Linked DNA regions of Homo sapiens: all the other regions are linked to region 3. Evidence: promoter capture Hi-C in human tissues and cell types (Jung and others, 2019). All regions are on one chromosome and are shown on one strand. Each heading gives the region's core, a stretch centred on a gene start or on the middle of the fragment in contact. The rest is flanking DNA. Distances are from core to core; before and after follow the strand shown. Region 1 overlaps MPDZ (multiple PDZ domain crumbs cell polarity complex component). Region 2 overlaps MPDZ (multiple PDZ domain crumbs cell polarity complex component). Region 3 holds the start of CER1 (cerberus 1, DAN family BMP antagonist).

Region 1 (3,007 bases), core at 302-2,801, 1.5 Mb before region 3:
CTACAGCAGAAAGTGCTGGCATACAAGGTTATTTTATTTCATCAATAAAAGGGCTAAAGGCAACAATTAACAAAGGGCCTGGATGAAGTCTATGTTTAAACAGTTCCATAGTTAAGAAAAATATTTACTTTCTTACAGTTCCCATGCCCAACTCTTACAATTTTATAATAAAATTGTGTCATAATTTTTCCTAGTCAACTAAAATAAACTGTTATTCAATGAGGCAGCTAGGCAATTATATATTTGTAAGCCACACTAAAACTATATATTTTGTTTAAATTATCTTGAACTAGATTTTAAAACCATTCAAGTTGCAGAAACCAAAAAGAAAATCTGTGATTTCATGCTAAAATTATACTAACAAACAAGGGGCCTAATTATGATCTGGTTATGGTGAAGCTTTAAGTTATAAACTTGTAAGAAAACTCATAAAGAGTGAGATAGAGAATTTCACTACATATTCTCTAATAATCCTATTGCTGTCTTCTGTCACAGAATCAAGATTAATATTTAAATTATGATGAGCTTGAAGTTCTTTTTGCAATTCACTCAAAGTCATACCTGAGAATAGGCAGAACTGACATATATACTACCTTTCTCTGATACTACCAGCATTTTCTGTCTATCTTGGCAAAATTCCATATGTTCTAATTTTTTTTTTGTAATTTCAACTTACTGCTTACCCAGGAGAAGTTAGAAGAATTATAACATTATATCAGGTCACATTCTTACAAAAAACTATTAAAAATACCTGTGGGCCATTTTGAAGTGATTTTCTCTTCAAATATACTTCATAGGCCTAATAATATATTTTAAATACATGTTCAAATTCACTAGTGAGTCACTATGTGGAGGTTTACCCTTACAAATATACATAACATACAACAATCTAGATAGACACTATTAACTAAGCCTTGTGTCATAGATTACAATACATATTTAAGTAACATTAATGAAAGAATACCTCAATATAATTTGTATGTATATTGCTGATATCTTAGGATCTTAGGAGAGATATTAACAATCAATTCATTTATTTACTGTAGAGATAAAACACTAAGACTCAAAGAAATTGAGTGACCAGTCCAAGATTACTTAGCTGGCTAAGGAGAAGACCCAGGACGCATATTACTATTATAAGATGCCAAGCTCACATAAAAGTGGAACTAATCTTCCTTTTGATTGGTATCCATTAAGGAGGTTCAAGGAAGCCATGTAAAGGCTAGAGAGAATGCTATTTCGTCGGGTACTTTAGAAATAATCATATATAGTATTTGTATCCTGTGACATTTCAAAAAGTATTTGCTATGGCTGGGTACTATTTACACCACAGTACTGTATGTAATTCGTTGTATATACTAAGCTATCTAGTTTTGAAGTGCTAACATAATACCCATGGAGAGCAGGGCCATAAGTTACCTGGTATGTTAAGTATTACAGTGTGAAATTATTGCATTTATTATAACATATACCAAAACTTTTCAAATGGCTATTTCAAGAGCTTGCAATTTAAAAATATTAGCAAAAGGAATTGTCTCCCCCGAAATTACAATCAGCAAAATGTATATATAGTCAAAGAAATAATTCACTCTGTTTTAAAGCAAGATGTGCGCAGTTATAAACACATAATGAAGAATTTAACAGGTTTTAAACCTTTCTCCAGTCTAATGAAACTCAAACAAGTATTTAAAAAGCAAGTATATTCCTTTTTAGCAACAGTGCACAATGTTTGCCCCACAAAAAACGTTGAGTAAGGAACCTAGCTCTAATAGTAGGGGTAATGTGAACAGGATGTACAATTTGTTGTATTTATGTTGAGTAAATGTCACATGTATATTCATGCCTGGTATTTAGTTTTATCCTTTAGTTATTGATATAGCATTGTACCCTCTACAAGAAAAAGTTTCTTAAGGGCAGAGTGCCTGCAAATACTTTTATTCCAATGGATACTATTTTAAACATCAAACAGAAATAAAATTTTAATTTATAATTTTTCTGGTAAATCAGTATACTTACATATATGTATTTATAGAAAACATGGGGTTTACCTTTCCATAAAACTGGTGTTCTTAATAACTGAACCAATTTATATGATTCTCACACTATTAATATCTAATGGAAAAAAGATACCTATTACCTCATTAAATACAGCCAAAACAGTGATTTATGACTGAATATTGAGCACAGTTAAAGAATGCCTAGAGATATCTAAGCGTGAAATTGGAGCAAACAAATGCTCCACAAACTTTAGATATGGCACAAAGATTAATTCTACATACTGCTACAATGCAACGTTAATTAAGTTTTCCTCACAAATGTTTTTCATATTTATTATGGTTTTTCTTCCCATTTTCAATTGTGAGAACTAAGTTGGAGAAAACATGTTTATCTTTCCAAATATAATAATGAACAAAGAATATAATAGACTTCTTCAGAATATTTTGAAAGGCAAAGTAAGACATATCAGGTTTCTGAAAGAAAGCTTGATAAGTCATAGCCACTAACCAGAGCCAAGTCAGCCCTGAAGAGGGGTTTGTCAGCCAGCCCTGCTTCCTCACAGGAGTGTGGTGGGTAGAGAAAGGAATCCTCCTTAGCAGAAACATAACCTTCTTCTGGTGAAAGCTGCAGGGAAAAAATGGTATTCATGGAAAAGAGAGAGAACAGCAAAGAAGAAAGAAAATGGAAAAGAAGAGTAAAGGTAGGAAAAGTGAGGGGGGCGAGAAGAGAAAGAAATTGGAAAGTTTTCAAACGATATGACTTCAACATAGAATGGTAAGTATGCAATCTGATATTCATATTTGACATTCATTTGATAAGACACAATGAGGATTATTTACTCTAATATAAAAATCACCTGTTGGATGAGAATCCCTTTCTACTAATTTTTCATTCTTCTTATAAGAATTTTTTTAAATGAATTTTTTTTTTAATATTCTAATAATCTTCCGGTTATTTTTATCTGCAAAATATTCTGGTCAAACAATGACTTCCTAATATAGAAATGAAG
Region 2 (2,942 bases), core at 204-2,703, 1.6 Mb before region 3:
TGATGTGGTAACAAGAATGTGGGGAAAAGGGAACATTCATATATTGGAAATAGAAATAAAAATTGGTATAGCAGCCAGGTGTGGTAGCTCATGCCTGTAATCCCAGCACTTTGGGAAGCCAAGGCAGGTGGATCATGAGGTCAAGAAATCGAGACCATCCTGGCCAACACGGTGAAACCCCATCTTTACTAAAAATACAAAAATTAGCTGGGCATGGTGGTGCGCACCTGTAGTCCCACCTACTTAGGAGGCTGAGGCAGGAGAATTCGCTCTAACCTGGGAGGCAGAGGTTGCAGTGAGCCAGGATCGTGCCACTGCATTCCAGCCTGGCAACAGAGTGAGACTCTGTCTCAGAAAAATAATAATAATAATTGGTATAGCAACCTTAAAAAGCAATTTGACAACTGAAAGTAAAAAATGCATATAAACTTACAGGCCAGCAATTCCAATTCCACTTCTGGATATATTCCCTAGATAAATTTTCATGTGTAAGTATAAAGAAATAAATATATTTACTGAACAGAATTATTATAATAGCAAATAACTATTAACTATCTAATATGAATCTGACAATGAATAAACTATGGTATATTCACATATTGAAATGCAACACAACAACTAAATTGAATGAATTAGATCTTTAAGTATCAAGCTTGATAGATTTACAAAACGTCAAGAATTGAGAGAAAAATTAAGCAAAATGGAAAATAATACATGTAGTAGTATATCAATTGTGTAAAATGAAAATCACATGCAAAATAAAATACAGCCCATTTTATAATCTTAAAATTTATATTTTGCTAAAAATTCTCTATTTTCATACAAAGTACATTTTTGTTGATTTCATGAATGACTGTCCCATCATGTTTTCAATGCTATGAACCATGTTCACAACACTAACTCCTAATTTATTAAAAGCTCTGGTTACTCCATTAAGCTTTCTTCTCATGTTCTATGAACTTCCCCTAGAAGTAGCTTAGTGAATCTAGGAGAACCACTACACTAGTGAGTACAGAGTACCTTCTTAGAAGGATTTATGGAATCTTTGGAGGTATTCTTCACGTAAGGTTGTTAGCACCTTTAGAGCTATCTTAGGATTGCATGAAGGTTAAAAGCATAAAAATTTTCCAGTCCAGAAGTTATGTTCTTCTTTCTCATAAGAAAATTTCATGATTTCTGTGTCAAAGGCTTTCTCTTTGCTTAGGTACCAGTGACAAATATTTTATCAATATAGACAAAGCCAACCACTGACTCACTATGTGCCAGGCACTCTGCTAAGGATTTTAGATGACACTGAATTTTCCCCCAAATTCAAAAGATTCTATTATTAACCTCATTTTACAGATAAAGTAGCAGAGACCTAGCAGAGATTAAGAAACTTGTCTTAGAAAGTATCAGAGCCAAAATCCTAACATGGCTCTTACTGACACCAACCATTTTGCATACTGCCTTCTGTATTAATCCTTTTTCATGCTGCTGATAAAGAAATACCTGAGACTGGGCAATTTACAAAAGAAGGAGGTTTATTGTACTTACAGTTCCACATGGCTGGGGAAGCCTCACAATCATGACAGAGGCAAGGAGGAGCAAGTCACATCTTATGTGGATGGCAGCAGGCAAATAAAAGAGCTTGTGCAGGGCAACTCCCGTTTTTAAAACCATCAGGTCTCCTGAGGCCCATTTACTATCAGGAGAACAGCATGGGAAAGACCTGCCCCCATATTCAATCTCCCACAGGGCCCCTTCCACAACATGTGGGAATTATGGGAGCTACAAGATGAGATTTGGGTGGGGACACAGAGCCAAACTATATCACCTTCTAAAATCTACTTTTCCTCTCATAATATTGTTACTAAAACTGACCAACCTATCTTTTTTTCCTGTGATTACTGTCCTCCTAAAAAATTCAAGTTTATCACTATGACTACCTGCTACAAAACAGTTTCATTTAACTTATTTCTACCTCTATCCACAAATAAATAAGACACTTAACACCTCAGAATATATTTTCTGCCACAGATCTAGCACTTATACCCTGTTCTCAATGTAGGCAGCACTATAGAGAGCTTGGGATTTTTTAAGTGAGTTAAGTGACTTTTGATGAAATTCAAATAAGAAATTCATGTTAGATGGCTGGAAATACATGCTGCTTCTTTGAAAGCAACATAAAATAGTGTTTTTTATATTTTAAAAATATTTAAATGTGATGGCTGCAGGTTATCACTGGTGGGCAGGGGACGTCATTAAATTGCACTGGCATTTACGAATATTACAAATTCTTCTCTTGAGCATTTTATTTATTCACTATGTAACAAATATTAATGTTTACTGAACACAAAGCATCACATTGTGATGGTGACCTTTAGGTCTGTTTGGGGTGGATGTCCACTGATTACCTATGTTTTACTCTTAAGGTGAAATACCTTGTGTTCTTAAATTGTTTCATGTGTCTCTACATCTTGCCCAGCCAAGTACATTAGAGGTTCCTTGAGGCAGGATTTGCATCTTCTATTTATTTCCTTGTTATTCACAAAATCATTGGCTTTAAGTCTAGGTCCATAATCAGGACTCAGTAAATTCCTATTAAACTAAAGTTGATTTTACTCAGCATAAACACATCAGTATGTTTTAGTGATGCACGTGATACATCTAAGTATATTTGAGGATGTCATCTTATCTATTATACATGAAACTGGTGCTAGACAGATTATGACTTAGGATAAACTCAGCCTGTGGTAACAAGGCTATGAGGGTACTTTTACACACAAACACACACACACACACACACGTTCTGAATATATATGTTTGCCTATCTAGTTTCTACAAATGCTAGGTAAAATTTAAATGAATACTTTTTGGTATACCTAAGATAAAACTCTACAGAACGTATTATCCATTCCAACTACCTATGAATAATTTTCTTTAATTTAGTCCCTACTATG
Region 3 (3,183 bases), core at 207-2,706:
CTTCATGTTTAAGGACCTAATGCAAGTTCTCAATTTTAATTTAACATTTGGAATGTAGATATTGCCAGAGGAAGTAGACAGTAGGATGTCCCTTTGTCTTAATAGCATGGAATTGATCATAATAACTACAAATCAGCCAACACAACATGAATCAGGAGAAAGGTACTTCTAAGGGGAGGAGATATGATCTCACATCAAGATTGATTTTTTAAAAAGCTCATATGAGAAAATAAGTGAAAGAAAATCACTTTTTTGCTATCATAATACTAGAAATGATATGACAACTTTTGCCTGAGAACCTCAACGTACTTTGAGGTTGTGGGATAGCTTTAGCAAGCTATTAAAGAAGTCCCTCATAAACCTATAAAGTAATTAAGTATGGACTATGGGGATTAAGACCATCGTAAATGGATATGAGAGTATTTGGGAAGGAGTCCAATGCACCCCACTTTATCAACAAATGGAGTTGACCTGCTCATCCACATATTAATAGAGTGCAGAAAGATAGCTACAGAGGAGTTCTGGTGATTACTCTAAATTCTCAGTTTCCTAACTGAGGGTACAGTCTGACTTATATCTCTGAGTAGATCACCTCCAATGCAAAAATAAATAAATAAAACAGAGCTCTGTGTCTTCAGTGTGAATGAATGATTACTGATATTGACAGTATCATCATATCATTCTTGCAGCATTTCCACAATGCCAAGAAAAAATGGAAAGGCCAGAAGGAAACTTAATCTTTGCCAAATCCTATGATGAATGCCCAAGGACCAAATCTGTAGTTAAGCTAGAGTCAGGCTCCTGACAGCCTTTTCCCCTACTCTCCATCCATCCCAGCTGTCCACTACCACCTGCAAACTCTTACCTGCTCTCCCCCCAGAACACATACCTGGCTGAAGGGCACTGTCCTGCAGGTCTCCCAATGTACTTCATGGCTTTTGATGGGCAAGATGACCCCCTGAGAAGCCGGAGTTTTTCTGAACATGAAGTGGTGCCAGAATTTCTTGGCTTCTTCCCGAAGAGGAGATTTCTCCATTTTCATTCCATCTATCGGCTGGATGAGGGACTGGGTCCCAGGTGGGAAGGGCTCACTATCTGAGTCCCTGGATGGATGCATTTCTCTCTCAGGCTTCTTCCAGAACCTGCCAAATCTGGACAGCATCTTCTCTCTCTGCCTCTGGCCTTCCCCTGCAGGGCTGGTGGCTACAAGGTGTGGCACTGCGACAAACAGATCTGGCTTCTCCTCAGCTTCCTCATGGTTGCCTGTGGGAAGCTCTCTTTGATTCCTTGGCAGGAGTACGGGGGAAAGAGAACTCTGATTCTGGCGGCCATCCTGGTGCCGTGTGGTCTTTCCTAGAGGCAGGAGTACCAGCAGCTGAAATAAGAGGAGATGCATGCTGTCAGGGGCCCAAGCTTCTTTTGTAAATGATGAGGCCCAAAGGAGAGGCTCATTCTCTGCAGGACTGGGAAAAAGGAAATCGTATATATAGATACCTGCCTGGCGGGATGGGAAGGCAGGTGGTCAGTAGCCAGGCAGAATAAACACATTTATTGTTTGCTTGAATTATGTAGTGCTAATGGCCTCCTGCCGTCACTTTGGTTTTGTGTATTTTAAAAGGCCCCAGTGAAAGCCTGGGACCCAGGGGGTAATTAGCTAAGAGTTTAGCTATGTCTGGGGCTTAAAGAGCAGTATTAGCAAAGACAACACATTCTTTGCCTAAATTTCCCATGGCTGTTTTCAGAAGAAGGACTAGAGTCAGCTCACATTTGCTGTGCATCTGCCTTGTGCTGGAATAGAATAGACAAGACATGTTGCTGTAAGAGAAGTTTTTGGATAAAAATTAAAGGCATACATTTAGAAAAAGCCCAGGCCTTTAGGAAGGCTATTCACACACACACACACACACACACACACACACACACACACACACACACGAAGAAGTATATCAAAGTTGTAAGGAGAAGAAAGGAAGAGCTAGAAGGATGTTAATTTTTTTGAGCAAGGGACATATTGTTTCTTACTTACATGCAAATTGGGGTTATTGATTTTTGCACAGTAACTGAGTAAAGGGAATATGTTTTCCTTTCCACACGTAGAAACTCACAATTCCCAAGTTAATCCTCTCACATTAAGAATCAATTAATGGGTGCTAAATTTCACAACTGGTCAGTCATCAGATAAACTCTTCCAATTGTTCACATGTTCCTCAACAGGATACCACGTAATAGACTGACAGCTCATCAGTCTTCAATGAGGATAGGGAAATGTCTCCCTCCAGCCATCCTATTGATTTTTTTTTCCCTTTGAACAAAGAGCCAGACATGAGAACGTGGATTCTAAGAACCAGGTTTGATAACTTTGTGTGTGACGCTGGCTAGTCAGTTTCTTACCTTATTGAATCCACATCATCTCCCCTTGTTTTACACTAATTGATGGCCAGGCTAAATAAAGATTGACACAAATAAGAGTCTTCGGGGATCAAAGGAAAAATTGAAAAATAACTATCATTCAAAACTATCATGAATCAGCCTAGGATACGAAAAAGAAACACGTCCAGAAAACTGAAACCCCAGAATAGAGTCCGATCAGCCTACCACATGATTCAAACAGTATTTCCACTGGGAAGCAATGCAATATCTGCTTTTATTTCTCCCCTTTTAATTCAATCACTATATTCCTTGCTTTCAATAACACAAATAGTCCTGGAACATGTTCCCCCTTTTTTGTCAATACTGATTAAACTTTCTTTCCAAGAAGTGACCCACTGGAGTCTGTTTTCCAGGCATTTCTGTTCTTCTTGATAGCCATGCCTGATTTCTATGAAATAAAGCCTTAAGTAAGTCCCTTTACCCATGATAATGAGCTATTTTTAACATGGACCATCACTTTACCAGAATGCCATGAGTGGAGATATATTGTACTTGTACCAAATATCTATGGAACGTGTGCTAGTATTAATGAAAGGTGCTGTTGATATATAATAAATAAGCATGTGTATTTGCCATTGTTTTTTTTTATTTTAGGAAAAGGGTTCTGCTCTGTTGCCCAGTCTGGAGTGCAGTGGTGCAATCATAGCACTCTGTAACCTCAAACTCCTAGGCTCAAGCAAGCCTCCTGAGTAGCTGGGACTACAGGCACACTACCACACCTGGCTATTTAAAATTTTGTGTTGTTGTTGAAAC

Evidence for each region. Contacts are between HindIII fragments. The study calls those that stand out against the background at their distance.
Region 1: a contact is called between a fragment that was not itself captured here and the fragment with the promoter of CER1 in region 3, in 1 of the 25 tissues and cell types used here (dorsolateral prefrontal cortex).
Region 2: a fragment that was not itself captured here is called in contact with the fragment with the promoter of CER1 in region 3 in 1 of the 25 tissues and cell types used here (dorsolateral prefrontal cortex).

The regions. Positions count from the first base shown.
Region 1 is chr9:13,183,765-13,186,771 of GRCh38, forward strand. It overlaps MPDZ (multiple PDZ domain crumbs cell polarity complex component), which reads right to left. Exons shown (of 47, transcript NM_001378778.1): 18 at 2,506-2,622. Among named protein-coding and RNA genes, the nearest start is that of MPDZ, 94 kb to the right of the region's middle. The HindIII fragment of the contact is 3,288 bases long and covers 1-3,007 here.
Region 2 is chr9:13,154,865-13,157,806 of GRCh38, forward strand. The region is part of intron 24 of MPDZ (multiple PDZ domain crumbs cell polarity complex component); the gene reads right to left. Among named protein-coding and RNA genes, the nearest start is that of MPDZ, 120 kb to the right of the region's middle. The HindIII fragment of the contact is 5,916 bases long and covers 1-2,942 here.
Region 3 is chr9:14,721,277-14,724,459 of GRCh38, forward strand. It overlaps CER1 (cerberus 1, DAN family BMP antagonist), which reads right to left and starts at 1,457. Exons shown (of 2, transcript NM_005454.3): 1 at 890-1,457. The coding sequence starts at 1,396. RefSeq lists enhancers at 605-1,544, 1,545-2,482. The HindIII fragment of the contact is 6,126 bases long and covers 316-3,183 here.